Linked DNA regions of Homo sapiens: region 1 is linked to region 2. Evidence: promoter capture Hi-C in human tissues and cell types (Jung and others, 2019). All regions are on one chromosome and are shown on one strand. The core of a region is centred on a gene start or on the middle of the fragment in contact, and the rest is flanking DNA. Distances in the headings are between cores, read along the strand shown. Region 1 overlaps DLG2 (discs large MAGUK scaffold protein 2). Region 2 holds the start of CCDC83 (coiled-coil domain containing 83).

Region 1 (7,340 bases), core at 1,888-4,387, 240 kb before region 2:
TATTTCTCCCACCTCCTCAGTTGTAATTGGGAGACTTTGCTCTCTTCACATGCCTTTCTTGTTATGCCTGAAAGTCCCACACCCTTATTAGGGAGGGATATATTAGCCAAAGCTGGAGCTATTATTTACATGAATATGGGGAACAAGTTATCCATTTGTTGTCCCCTACTTGAGAAGGGAATCAACCCTGAAGTCTGGGCATTGGAAGGATAATTTGGAAGGAAAAAAATGCCCGCCCAGTCCAAATCAGGCTAAAAGATCCCACCACTTTTCCTTATCAAAGGTAACATCCCTTAAGGCCTGAAGCTCATAAAGGATTACAAGATATTGTTAAACATTTAAAAGCTCAAGGCTTAGTAAGGAAATGCAGCAGTGACTGCAACACCCCAATTCTAGGAGTACAAAAACTGAATGGTCAGTGGAGACTAGTGCAAGATCTTGGACTCATCAATAAGGCAATAATTCCTCTATATCCAGTTGTACCCAACCCCTATACCCTGCTCTCTCAAATATCAGAGGAAGCAGAATGGTTCACTGTTCTGGACCTCAAGGATGCCTTCTTCTGTATTCCCCTGCACTCTGACTCCCAGTTTCTCTTTGCCTGTGAGGACCCCACAGACCACACATCCCAACTTACACAGACGATCTTGCCCCACGGGTTTAGGGATAGCCCTTACCTGTTTGGTCAGGCACTGGCCCAAGATCTAGGCCACTTCTCAAGTTCAGGCACTCTGGCCCTTCAGTATGTGGATGATTTACCTTTGGCTACCAGTTTGGAAGCCTCATGCCAACAGGCTACTCTAGATCTCTTGAACTTTCTAGCTAATCAAGGGTACAAGGCATCTAGGTCAAAGGCCCAGCTTTGCCTACAGCAGGTCGAATATCTAGGCTTAATCTTAGCCAGAGGGGCCAGGGCCCTCAGCAAGGAATGAATACAGCCTATACTGGCTTATCATCACCCTAAGACATTAAAACAGTTGCAGGGGTTCCTTGGAATCACGGGCTTTTGCCGACTATGGATCCCCGGATACAGCGAGATGGCCAGACCACTCTATACTCTAATCAAGGAGCCCCAGAGGGCAAATACTCATCTAGTAGAATGAGAACCAGGGTCAGAAACAGCCTTCAAAACCTTAAAGCGGGCCCTAGTACAACTCCAGCTTTAAGCCTTCCCACAGGACAAAACTTATCTCTATATGTCACAGAGACAGCAGGGATAGCTCTTGGAGTCCTTACGCAGGCTCATGGGATGAACCCCCAACCAGTGGCATACCTAAGTAAGAAAATTGATGTAGTAGCAAAAGGCTGGCCTCACTGTTTAAGGGTAGTTGTGGCAGTGGCCATCTTAGTGTCAGAGGCTATCAAGATAATACAAGGAAAAGATCTCACTGTCTGGACTACTCATGATGTAAATGGCATACTAGGTGCCAAAGGAAGTTTATGGCTATCAGACAACTGCCTACTTAGATACCAGGCACTACTCCTTGAAGGACCGGTGCTTCAAATACCTATGTGTGCAGCCCTCAACCCTGCCACTTTTCTCCCAGAGGATGGGGAACCAATCAGCATGACTGCCAAACTTATAGTCCAAACTTATGCCGCCCGAGATGATCTCTTAGAAGTCCACTTAGACTGATGGAAGTTCATTTGTGGAGAATGGGATACTACGGGCAGGTTATGCCATAGTTAATGATGTAACCGTACTTGAAAGTAAACCTCTTCCCCCAGGGACCAGTGCCCAGTTAGCAGAACTAGTGGCACTTACCCGAGCCTTATAACTGGGAAAGGGAAAAAGAATAAATGTGTATACAGATAGCAGATATGCTTATCTAATCCTACATGCCTATGCTACAATATGGAAAGAAAGGGAGTTCCTAACCTCTGGGGGAACCCCCATTAAATACCACAAGGAAATCATGGAGTTATTGCACTCAGTGCAAAAACCCAAGGGGGTGGCAGTCTTACACTGTCGAAGCCATCAAAAAGGGGAAGGAGAGGGGAGAACAGCAGCATAAGCAGCTGGCAGAGGCAGGGAAAGACCAGCAGAGAGAGAGAGAGAGGAAGAGACAGAGATATAGAGAGAGAGAAAAAGAGAGATAGGAAGTCAAAGAGAGAGACAGAGAGGAAGAGACTGAAAGTCAAAGAGAGAAGGAAAGAGAGGAAGATACAAAGGAGTCAAAGAGACAGAAAGAAATAGAAGTAGTAAAGAAAAAACAGTGTACCCTATTCCTTTAAAAGTCAGGGTAAATTTAAAACCTATAATTGATAATTGAAGGTCTTCTCTGTAACCCTATATCACTCCAATACCACCTTGTTGTCAGTGTCAACAAGGGCATAGCCCGAAAGCACTGAGGCCACTGACAACCCATAGCCTTCCTATCAAAAATCCTTAACCCAGCAGGTTTCCCAACAAGGGATCTAAATCTTAACTAATTATCATACGAAGGTCTGACCAGACCTAGGAGGAACTCCCTTCAGGACAGGATGATAGATGGTTCCTCCCAGGCAAGTAAGGAAACAAAGACACAATGGATATTCAGTGAGGAAACTCTTGTAGAAGCAGAGTTAGGAAAATTGCCTAATAATTGGTCTGCTCAAATGTGCGAGCTGTTTGCACTCAGCCAAACTTTAAAGTACTTACAGAATCAGGAAGGAGCCATCTATACCAATTTTAAGTTAATATGGACTGAACGAGGTCTTACTAATAGCAAAGAATAATTGAAATCCCAAACTTACAAGGTTTTCAACAAAAGTAAAGTTTGCTAAAAGTTTACAGTGTAACATATATTATCCTAACTTCTAATCTTATGAAAATCAGACCTTATCAGTACCCCTCAAAGCTCAAGTCCATCAGCGCAGAGCCATACAACTAATACCCCTACTTATAGGGTTAGGAATGGCTACTGCTACAGAAACTGGAATAGCAGGTTTATGTACTTCATTATCCTACTACCACACACTCTCACAGGAATTCTCAGACAGTTTGCAAGAAATAACAAAATCTATCCAGTAAGGATAGTAACCACAACCCCAAACAGACTCTTTGGCAGCAGTGACTCTCCAAAACTACCGAGGCCTAGACCTCCTCACTGCTGAGAAAGGAGGACTCTGCACCTTCTTAGGGGTAGAGTGTTGTTTTTATACTAACCAGTCAGGGATAGTATGAGATGCTGTCCGGCGTTTATAGGAAAAGGCTTCTGAAATCAGAAAACGCCTTTCAAACTCTTACCAACCTCTAGAGTTGGGCAATATGGCTCCTCCCCTTTCTAGGTCCCATGGCAGCCATCTTGCTGTTACTCGCCTTTGGGCCCTGTATTTTTAACCTGCTTGTCAAATTTGTTTCCTCTAGAATCGAGGCCATCAAGCTACCGATGGTCTTACAAATGGAACCCTAAATGAGCTCAACTAACAACTTCTACTGAGGACCCCTGGACTGACCCACCAGTCCTTTCACTGGCCTAAAGAGTTAACCTCTGGAGGACACCACAACTGCAGGGCCCCTTCTTCACCCCATCCAGCAGAAAGTAGCTAGAGCAGTCATCGGCCAAATTCCCGACAGCAATTGGGGTGTCCTGTTTAGAGATGGGATTGAGAGGTGAAGCCAGCTGGGCTTCTGTGTCAGGTGGGGACTTGGAGAACTTTTCTGTATAGCTAAAGGATTGTAAATGCACCAATCAGCTCTCTGTGTCTAGCTAAAGGATTGTAAATGCACCAATCTGTGCTCTGTGTCTAGCTAAAGGTTTGTAAATGCACCAATCAGCACTTGGTAAAAACGGACCAATCAGCACTCTGTAGAACAGAACAAGCAGCGCTCTGTAAAATGGACCAATCAGTAGGATGTGGGTGGGGCCAAATAAGGGAATAAAAGCATGCTGCCCGAGCCAGCAGCAGCAACCCGCTTGGGTCCCCTTCCACGCTGTAGAAGCTTTGTTCTTTCGCTCTTTGCAATAAATCTTGCTGCTGCTCACTCTTTGGGTATGTGCCACCTTTATGAGCTGTAACACACACTGTGAAGGTCTGCAGCTTCACTCCTGAAGTCAGCAAGACCACAAACCCACCAGGAGGAATGAACAACTCTGGACATGCCACCTTTAAGAGCTGTAACATGCACCGCGAAGGTCTGCAGCTTCACTCCTGAAGTCAGCGAGACCATGAACCCACCAGAAGGAAGAAACTCTGGACACATCCAAACATCAGAAGGAACAAACTCTGGACACACCATCTTTAAGAACTGTAACACTCACCACGAGTATCAGTGGCTTCATTCCTGAAGTCAACAAGACAGAATCCACTCATTCCAGACACAAAAGTATTTTACTAAGAAGTATTCACATATGCTTAATTCTTATTGTTGATGTTATTGCTTTTTTACAAATCAAGGACACTCATGAGAAAGTAATAAAGTAATGAATAGCAACAGAAAAGTTAGTCTTGAACCAGGTTTTTTTTTTTTTTTAAAAATTAACATTAAAATGTATAGTTCGGCCGGGCATGGTGGCTGACACCTGTAATCCCAGCACTTGAGGAGGCTGAGGCAGGTGGATACCTGAGGTCAGGAGTTCAAGACCAGCCTGACCAACATGGAGAAACCCCGTTTTTACTAAAAATACAAAATTAGCTGAGCATGGAGGCCCATGCCTGTAATCCCAGCTACTCAGGAGGCTGAGGCAGAAGAACAGCTTGAACTTGGGAGGCAGAGGTTGCAGTAAGCCAAAATGGCGCCATTGCACTCCAGCCTGGGCAACGAGAGTGCAACTCCATCTCCAAATAAATAAAACAAACGTACAGTTCAAGGTGATACCACAAAGGTGTCATTTTATTACTAATAATATTAGCTAGCATTTGTGGAACAATGCTAGGCATTCTGCACTGATCACCTTATTTAATCTTCAAAAGAATCCTAAGAACTACTACTATATACATTTTCACAAATGGGGAAATTTTAGACTGAGGGAAATAGAGTACATTTGCCCAAGGCTACATAACAGTAAGTGCTGGAACCACAATGCAAATGCTGATCTATCTGCCACCAAAGCCCATACAAAGCATTATGCCATATTGAAACTTGATTTACTAGGAAAGGATCACAATGCTTCTTTCTTCTATAATTATTCTTTGCAATTATACTTTACCCTCCCTAAAAAAGAATTGTTTGAATATACTTCAACTAACACCTGTTGATCTGGTTATTTTCCCTGTTGAAACAAGAAGATATTATTAATAGTATAAAACGGTAAATTTATATCTCTCCTTTCAGACAAGCCATGCTTTCAAATTTTCTATAAACTTGTTAAAGGGGAATGATAGAAAATGTGCAAGGCTACGCAGCAGTAAACAGAAAGTAAGAAAACAACGAATTGGCCAGGCATGTGGCTCATGCTTGTAATCCCAGCATTTTGGGAGGCCGAGGCAGACGGATCACTTTGAGCTCAGGAGTTCAAGACCAGCCTGGGCAACATGGCGAAACCCCATCTCTACTAAAAATACAAAAATTAGCTGGGCATGTGGTGGGTGCCTGTAATCCCAGCTACTCAGGAGGCTGAGGCAGGAGAATCGCTTGAACCCAGAAAGCAGAGGTTGCAGTGAGCTGAGATCATGCCACTGCACTCCAGCCTGGGCAACAGAGCAAGATTCCATCTCAAAAAAAAAAGATTAAAAATTGCATCTTCAGCTAAATACTGATTTTTGCATCATTCCAGATTTATTTATCTAGAAAAATAAATAAATAAATAAAATTTGGAATTTAAATAGTGAAGAATATGTATGGCAAGACTTAAAGCAGACCTGAAGACTGCAATCATTTTGTATATATTAGATGATTTACAAATTACTTTAGCATCTTTGGAGGAGAAATAATCTTAATAAGAAATGTTATAACCTGTTTTTTTTAAAAACACGCATGGCATCTCCTATCTGTGATCAAATGCATCATTGCCATATCTGGACAGGCTTGTTCCAGAAGCTGACCACGAAGCTGAACCCAAACCACTGATGGAAGGGGACTCTGACATTTCTCCTCCTTGAACCCACCCACCCCCCTAAAAAAAAATGCATTCAGATGATAAGCTTTTGTACAGCAGTTTCTTATCTACAAAATAATTTTTATATGGTCTAGGTCTCTTGATTTGATCCTCACAATAATCCTAAGAGGTATTAGTACTATACTTAAGTTTTAACAGGAAAAATTTGAAGCTCTATCTGTTGATTTGCTTAATGTAGTCAACTGATGGTAAAAGCTAGATTCCAATCCTGGGCTCTCCTCTACTGCACTATGATGCCATTCACTTGTTCAAAGACTACCACACTCATACAGTAAAAAGGAAAGCATCAGACAAGCTTCTGGTCCTAATTCCATCACTAACTAGCTTTGTAAAAGTGAAGTTCATGAACATTATCATATTTGATGGGAAAAAGAAACAGTATATAGTAAGGGGGAAAAAAGCATTAAATCCCTTTTTTAAAAGGAAACAAGTTCAGAAGGATTACATGATTTTCACAGGATCTTGGTGGCATCATCATAAGAAGGCAAGTAACCTGTATTTTACACATGGGAGATTGGTACTTTGAGATATTAAAACTTTTTTCTACCTAAATTTTCCCATTTCCTTTTTTCTCATTCCAGCGACAACTGGTTCCCTACTTTATTGCCTCAGGGGCGCTATATGCCAGGACAAAACCCAGAAGGAATTTTTCAGTAATTCCAGTTTTGCTTTCTAAAAACCTAAGCCCTCAGAATAAAATAAGAGTTTGTCAGAGATGAAAAAGAGATTCTCGGGTACAGGCAGAGAAAGGGACTTCTCCTAGCCCCTTCACAGCGTAGAAAAAAATTTTCCCAGCTGAAGAAAACATAAAAAAGTCTTTGGATCTCAAGGGATCAGGGATCTAGGCTCTTGTTATTGGCAACATTGCTTGGAAGGCAGCAAGACCCAAGAGGAATGGCATTGTAACGCATCTAGGCAAACAGAAACACAGACATTCTAGAAAAAGGTAAAAGTCCATGACTCGGACATATCAAATATCTGTCAAACCAGACGAGAAAGAGCTATCTAGACACAACAACTCATATGTCAGAAGTAAGCTGTTTTATATAGATGATCAACAACCAGAAGACACTCCCATTCCAGGCAGAACCCCACCTTAACCCCAGGGAAGTGGGGAAAACTTCAAAAAGGATAAGTTATTTTGTCTGTTACTCAGTTACTAAGAGTAAAGGTGAATTACAGAAAATAAATGGATACTTCTAACATACCTAAATTTACAGACCAAGTCCAGCTCACGGATTACCTGATCCTGTCCCTTCTTTTAGTAGCCAAATCTTCTGACTACTGTTCTAGGTTTTT
Region 2 (6,603 bases), core at 151-2,650:
TACAGGCACTCACCACTATGCCTGGCTAATTTTTCGTAGAGATGGGGTTTCGCCATGTTGCCTACGCTGGTCTCAAACTCCTTACCGCAAGCAATCTGTCCACCTCGGCCTCCCAAACTGCTGAGATTACAGGCGTGAGGGATTGTAGGCGTGAGGGATTACAAGCATGAGCCACCGCGCCCTGCTATATTACTTATTTCTTAAACACCTGCAATTCATTAAAATACACCATGTATAAATTATAAATCATAATATTATCAAGAACTGTTATTTCTAAGTGCTGAATAAATGAATATTTCCACTCATTAAAAAAAAAAAAAGTTGTCCGTTCAAAGCCAGTGTCAAGTACCAAAAAAAGAAAATTATCTTGCGGCAGATAATGAGAAATAATGCAGGAGAGGAAAGAGGAACTTTAAAGGCTGTACGTGTAGGATTTTCTTTTTCTCTCTCGGAGGAAAGAACAGCAAAAAGCGAAGAGTGGGAAATGCTGGACTTAAATTCCTTTCTTTAGGTTTACGAACAAAAAAGGAAAGCGAGAAGAAAAACAGAATCAAGGACTTATACAGCAGGAAGTTGCCCTGTAAGCATTTAGTCCAGGGACCTGCCATTCTTATTAAGAGCTAAAACCAAAGAATTAGTGCACGAAAGTAGAAAGAAGACAAGCCGCCATTGTGGAAGGAGCGCAGCGGGACAGAGGCGCGCAGAAGCCTCACCAGACAACCAGGCCCCGTCCCCGTCCCCCGAACTGTGCGGAAAGCGCCACCGAGTCCAGGCGTCTCATTTTACAGCGGAAGACACAAACTCTGAGATCCAAATGACCTGCTCACGGTCACAGCACGAAGCCCGTGGGCCCTGTGTCTACAGTCACCAACTTCCAGGCTTGCGACTAAAGGGAGCCAACGAGCGCGTGAGCGTTTGAGACCAGCTGGCTGAGGGACGCCGAAAATCCCGCGCGGAGGAAGGCGGGAGAGCGCTACCGCTGCTACCAAGGCGGCGGCGCGGGCGCTCGGCCGGGACCCTTCCCTGCGTCGCCACCAGATGGCGCGCTCGGCCCGCCGTTCGCGGCTAAGCTAGGGCGGGTGGGGAGGGAGTAGGGAGGAGGACGTCGGTTGCCTTGGAAATGCAGGGCGCAGCAGCCGCTGCAGTGGAGCCGGTAGGCCTGGCCGGCGGGCTGAAAGGAAGTGCGAGCTGTCCGCCCAGGGCCGGGTATCCGCCCCTGCAGGCTGTGGAGGGGATGTCAGGAGACTGGCTGGCCTCTTTTCTTGGCCCCCGACTCCTTCCAGTCTGACACTGAAGACTTTATAAGCTTCCCCCCGACCACCCTCCACGGGCTCCACTCTCCACGGGCCTGGGCTTGCGCCGCTTCGAGATCAGCCTGGGGGTCGCGCCCTCCTGGTCTTGTCCACGAAGCGCCGTTCTTGGGCCGTTAGGAGCTGCTGGGAAGGGCTCTGATAGGCCCACTCCTCTTCTCCACCCAGGAGATGAGAAGGAGGGCAGGCCTTTTTAATCTGATCAGAATGTTAACCCATCTCTCCGCCTTGCGGTAGAACCCCTGGATACATTATTTGCCCTCTCGAAAGGCAGGCTCTGAATTTGATTCAGGTTTGTAACCTTCACGGTGCCCTCACACAGCCCCTAGCACACAGCAGACGCAGAGCAGACTAAGAATGCCTTCCATTCTTATGAGGCTTTATCACTTGACAGTTTTCCCAAAGCGTTTGGAGCCTCATAGCCCGGACAGCAACTAGGACAGATGGAGGAGGAAACAGGTCAGAGGTTCAGAGACTTGGCCTAGGTTATACAACTCTGTGCAGGAGCTGGGACTAAGCTCGGTCTTGCTTCTCTTAGTGCCTCTCTCACCAAATTCTGAGTCTAGTGAATGCTTTCTGAGGACCTCACATACTCTTGCATCCTTCTCAATACCAGCGCAATGCTCTTCCGCTGTAGGTACTTCATATGTGCTAAGTGTGTTATTGATGTCTTTTACCCTCATATCCCAATTCATAGATTGGTTTCAACTTCTTGCTCTGGATACTACAACATTCTTCTAAAGAAAACACTTGGTTTCTTTTATGAATTTGTCACATTTGTACAGTGCCATGTTGTTGCCTCACTCCCTTCCTTATCCCATAATTTTCTGCTGGGCAAGAGAGAGAGTTGAGGAAGTGATTAAGAGATGGGAAAAAGTGCCCTATCTAAGCCAAAAAAAAAAAAAAAAAAAGGAAAAGAAAGATTCCTGTGATGACAGAGGGGAAAAATAATGACTGGGTATTTATCAGTCTATGTGATAATTGCTCATGGATTGCCTTACAGCCACCTCCAGAAGATCCTCTTTAGACTCACTACTGCTATTTGAAGGTAGAAAGAAGCCTTTTTGTTCTCTACCATTATTATTGCATATTTTTCCCTTATCCTCATAATAATATTTTCATAGTTATTTTTCTTTTCTTTGTTGATAATTCTAAAACTGAAGGACAGTAAGAGTGGGAAAAAAATGTAGTTCTGGTTACTAGAGAAGTTAGTGTAATATACTGCAGTTCAAACTATTTGATATTAGCAACTCTGGATCAGAAGACGGACTAATTTTAAAGCTAAGACTCCAATATCTTTGGGTACTGCAGTAGAAAAATGTGCCATGACTAAAGGATTGGTGAAGAAAATACATGCTAATGTAATGTACATCATCAGTCGTCCAAGTGAAACTTGAAAATGTCACTCATCTAGATATTTTTAAATACCTTGATTTTAATATATGATTTTAACATATTTCCAAACCGGGCAAATTTTACATTTTAACACTAACAATTTTGGTCCCTATCATATATACATAATCAATATGAAAAGCGGTCTCAATTTTTAAAATTAATGTTTTAGGTGGTACTATTACCACTGAATGGCTTTAAATTAATTCAGGATTTTTAAAAACATTTACTGGAGACCATTTCTAATTAAGTTAAACATGTGTTCTGTGCAATCTCATTTGCAGTAGCCACAAAACGAATAAACTACCTGGGAACCCCCTGCCCAGTGCCATACCCCCAGTGCCTGTCCCCAGATCGAGGCTTGGGCCCCTTCAGCCATGTCTATCACAAGCACCACCAGCATGTCTGACAAACTGCCCTACAAAGTCACTGACATTGGCCTGGACTTCTGGGGATGCAAAGCCCTGGATATTGTGGAGAACCAGATGCCGGGCCTGACGTGCATGTGGGAGCTGTACTCAACCCTCCAAGCCCTCGAAGGGCACGCGCATCACCAGTTGCCTCCATAGGACCCATGGAGATGGCCATCCTCATTGAGACCCTCATTACCCTGGGTGCCAAGCTGCAGTGGTCCAGCTGCAACATCACCCAGGACCATGAGGCAGCTGCCATTGCCAAGGCTGGCATTCCAGTTGTACGCCTGGAAGGGCGAAACAGAGGAGGAGTACCTGTGGTGCACCAAGCAGACATTATACTTCAAAGACGGCCTCCTCAACGTGATTCTGGATGTCGCTTGGGCCCCCACCAACCTCATCCACACCAAGTACCCACAGCTCTTGTCGGGGATGTGAGGCATCTTCAAGGAGACCATGATTGGGGTCCACAAGCTACACAAGATGATGGCCAATGGGATCCTGAAAGTGCCTGCCATCAATGTCAACAACTCCGTCACCAAGAGCAAGTTTGACAACCTCTCCGGCTGCCAGGAGTCCCTCATAGATAGCATCAAGTGGGCCACAGACGTGATGATTGCCAGCAAGGTAGCAGTGGTAGCAGGCTGTGGCGACATGGGCAAAGGCTGTGCCCAGGCCCTGTGGGGTTTCAGGCCCATGTCATCATCATCAAGATCGACCCCATCAACATACTGCAGGCTGCCATGAAGGGCTATGAGGTGGCCACCATAGACGAGGCCTGTCAGGAGGACAACATCTTTGTCACCACCACAGGCTGTGTTAACATCATCCTTGGCTGGCACTTTAAGCAGATGAAGGATGATGCCATCATTTGTAACACTGGACACTTTGACATGGAGATTGATGTCAAGTGGCTCAACAAGAATACTGTGGAGAGAGTCAACATCAAGCCCCAGGTGGACTGGTATCAGCTGAAGAATGCACACCACATCATCCTGCTAGCTGAGGGTCAGCTGGTCAACCTGGGTTGTGCCATGGGCCACCTCAGCTTCTTGATAAGTAACTCCTTCACCAACCAAGTGATGGCGCAGACTGAGCTGCAGACCCACCCAGACAAGTACCAGGTTATGGTTCTCTTCCTGCCCAAGAAGCTGAATGAGGCAATGGCTGAAGCCCACCTGGGCAAGCTGAATGTGAAATTGACCAAGCTGACTGAGCTGCAAGCCCATTACCTGTACTTGTCCCGTGATGGCCCCTTCAAGCCAGATCACTACCACTACTGAAAGCCAGACCTGCCCTTCGCCTTCCAACTGCTGTCCTTGTCCAGGCCCTGCCTCTCCTCCCTAAGAGCAAATGGCACCCACTTTGTGATTGGTTTGTCAGTGTCCCCTATTGACTCCCTGGGGCTGGTCACTCAGTTTTTGGCCTCTGCTGCATCCCTCATACTGTTCCAAGTGTGGCAGGGGGAATTGAGAGGCCCCTCCTCAAGCCTTGGTCATGATAGGGGTACAAGGGAGACAGCCACAGGGAACTATGAATTCAATGATCTTGGAACTTCTCACTAAGTCAGTCCTTCCTTAGCCTGGAAGTTGGTAATGGAGTCACAAAGCCCATATACTTTACCATCTAGGCATTCACCCGGTCTGTGGACTTATACCTGTGTGCTTGGTTCACAGGTTCAGTGGTACCTCAGCCCATGACAGAAAAGCAGCAGCTATATTGAAGGGCAAAGAGGAACTGTTGTTTGAATTTTCCTGAGAGCCTGACTTAGTGCTGGGCCTTCTCTTCCACCTCATAACAATGAGGTTGGTACTTTTAGTCTCTGTTTTATAGGAGTTAGAATAGACTGTTAAGGGACAACTGAGAAAGGACAGAGAATTGATAGCCAGAGGTTGAGAGGGGCCATAAAAACATAAAAGCAAGCATAGATCTGCTACCACTTTGTAACAAGATAATTCCTATCACAACCCTGGGTCAAAAAGAGAATAATCTGGTCCATAATGTTTATGTTAAAAAAAAATAAAAAGCAGGAAGGTGGGTAAATAAAAATCTTGGTGCCTTAAAAAAAAAAAAAAAAAAAAAACCCCTAGGAATACAGCTTACCAAGAAGGTAAATGAGTTCTACAATGAGAATTTCAAAACACTGCTGAAATAAGTCAGAGATGAACACAAACAAATGGAAAAACATTCAATGTCATTTTTCATGGAATTAAACAAAACTATTCTAAAATTCATATGGAACCAAAACAGAGCCCTAATCACCAAATCAACCCCAAACAATAAGAGCAAAGCCAGGGGAATCACACTACCCAACTTCAAACTATATTACAAGGCTACAGTAACCCAAACAACATGGTACTGTTACAAAAACAGACATATAAACTAATGGAACAGGTTAAAGGACCCAGAAATAAAGCCACACACCTACAACTACTGGTTTTGTGACAGAGTCAATGATAACAAACAATGGGGAAAGAACTCCCTATTCAATAAATGGTGCTGGGATAACTGGCTAGCCATATGTGGAAGATTGAAACTGGACCCCTTCCTTTTACCACATACAAAAATTAACTCAAGATGAATTAAATACTTAAATGTAAGACCTAAAACAACAAACACTCTAGAAGAAAACCTAGGAAATACCATTCTGGACATTGGCCTTGGCAAAGAATTTATGACTAAATTCCCAAAAGCAACTGCAACAACAACAAAAAATAGACAAGTGGGACTAATTAAAGAGCTTCTGCACAGCAAAAGAAACTATCAACAGAGTAAACAGACAACCTGCAGAATGGGAGAAAATATTCACAAGCCATGCATCCAACAAAGGTCTAATATCCAGAATCTATAAGGAACTTAATTCAGCAAACAAAAAGCAAATAACCCCATTTAAAAATAAGAGAAGGACAGGCTGGGTGTGGTGGCTCCCGCCTGTAATCCCAGCACTTTGGGAGGCTGAGGCAGTCAGATCACAAGGTCAGGAGATCGAGATAGTCCTGGCTAACACGGTGAAACCCCGACTCTACTAAAAATACAAAACAAATAAATAAATAAATTAGCCAGGCATGGTGGCACGTGCCTGTAGTCCCAGCTACTCGGGAGGCTGAGGCAGGAGAATCACTTGAACCCTGGAGGCAAAGGTTGCAGTGAGCCGAGATTGTGCCACTGCACTCCAGCCTGGGCAACAGAGTGAGACTCCGTCTCAAAAAAAAAAAAAAAAAAAAAGAAGGCAAAGAACATGAACAGATACTTTTCAAAAGAAAACATACATGTGGCCAACAAATATATGAAAAAATGCTCATCATCACTAATCATTAGATAAATGCAGATCAAAACCATGATAAGATACTATCACACAGGAATCACAATGGTAATTATTAAAAAGACAAAAAACAACAGATGCTGGTGAGGTTTAGCAGAAAAGGGAACACTTATACACTGCTGGTGGGAGTATTAAAGAACACGTGGAAAGCAGTGTGAAGATTTCT

Evidence for each region. The method cuts DNA at HindIII sites, captures the fragments that hold promoters and counts their contacts. A contact is called where the count stands out against the background at its distance.
Region 1: a contact is called between a fragment that was not itself captured here and the fragment with the promoter of CCDC83 in region 2, in 1 of the 25 tissues and cell types used here (H1 embryonic stem cells).

Annotation. Positions count from the first base shown.
Region 1 is chr11:85,609,877-85,617,216 of GRCh38, forward strand. The region is part of intron 2 of DLG2 (discs large MAGUK scaffold protein 2); the gene reads right to left. Among named protein-coding and RNA genes, the nearest start is that of DLG2, 14 kb to the right of the region's middle. The HindIII fragment of the contact is 3,716 bases long and covers 1,280-4,995 here.
Region 2 is chr11:85,853,983-85,860,585 of GRCh38, forward strand. CCDC83 (coiled-coil domain containing 83) reads left to right here and starts at 1,401. Exons shown (of 11, transcript NM_001286159.2): 1 at 1,401-1,602. It also overlaps a transcript of SYTL2 not described here and the pseudogene AHCYP6. The HindIII fragment of the contact is 10,338 bases long and covers 1-4,682 here.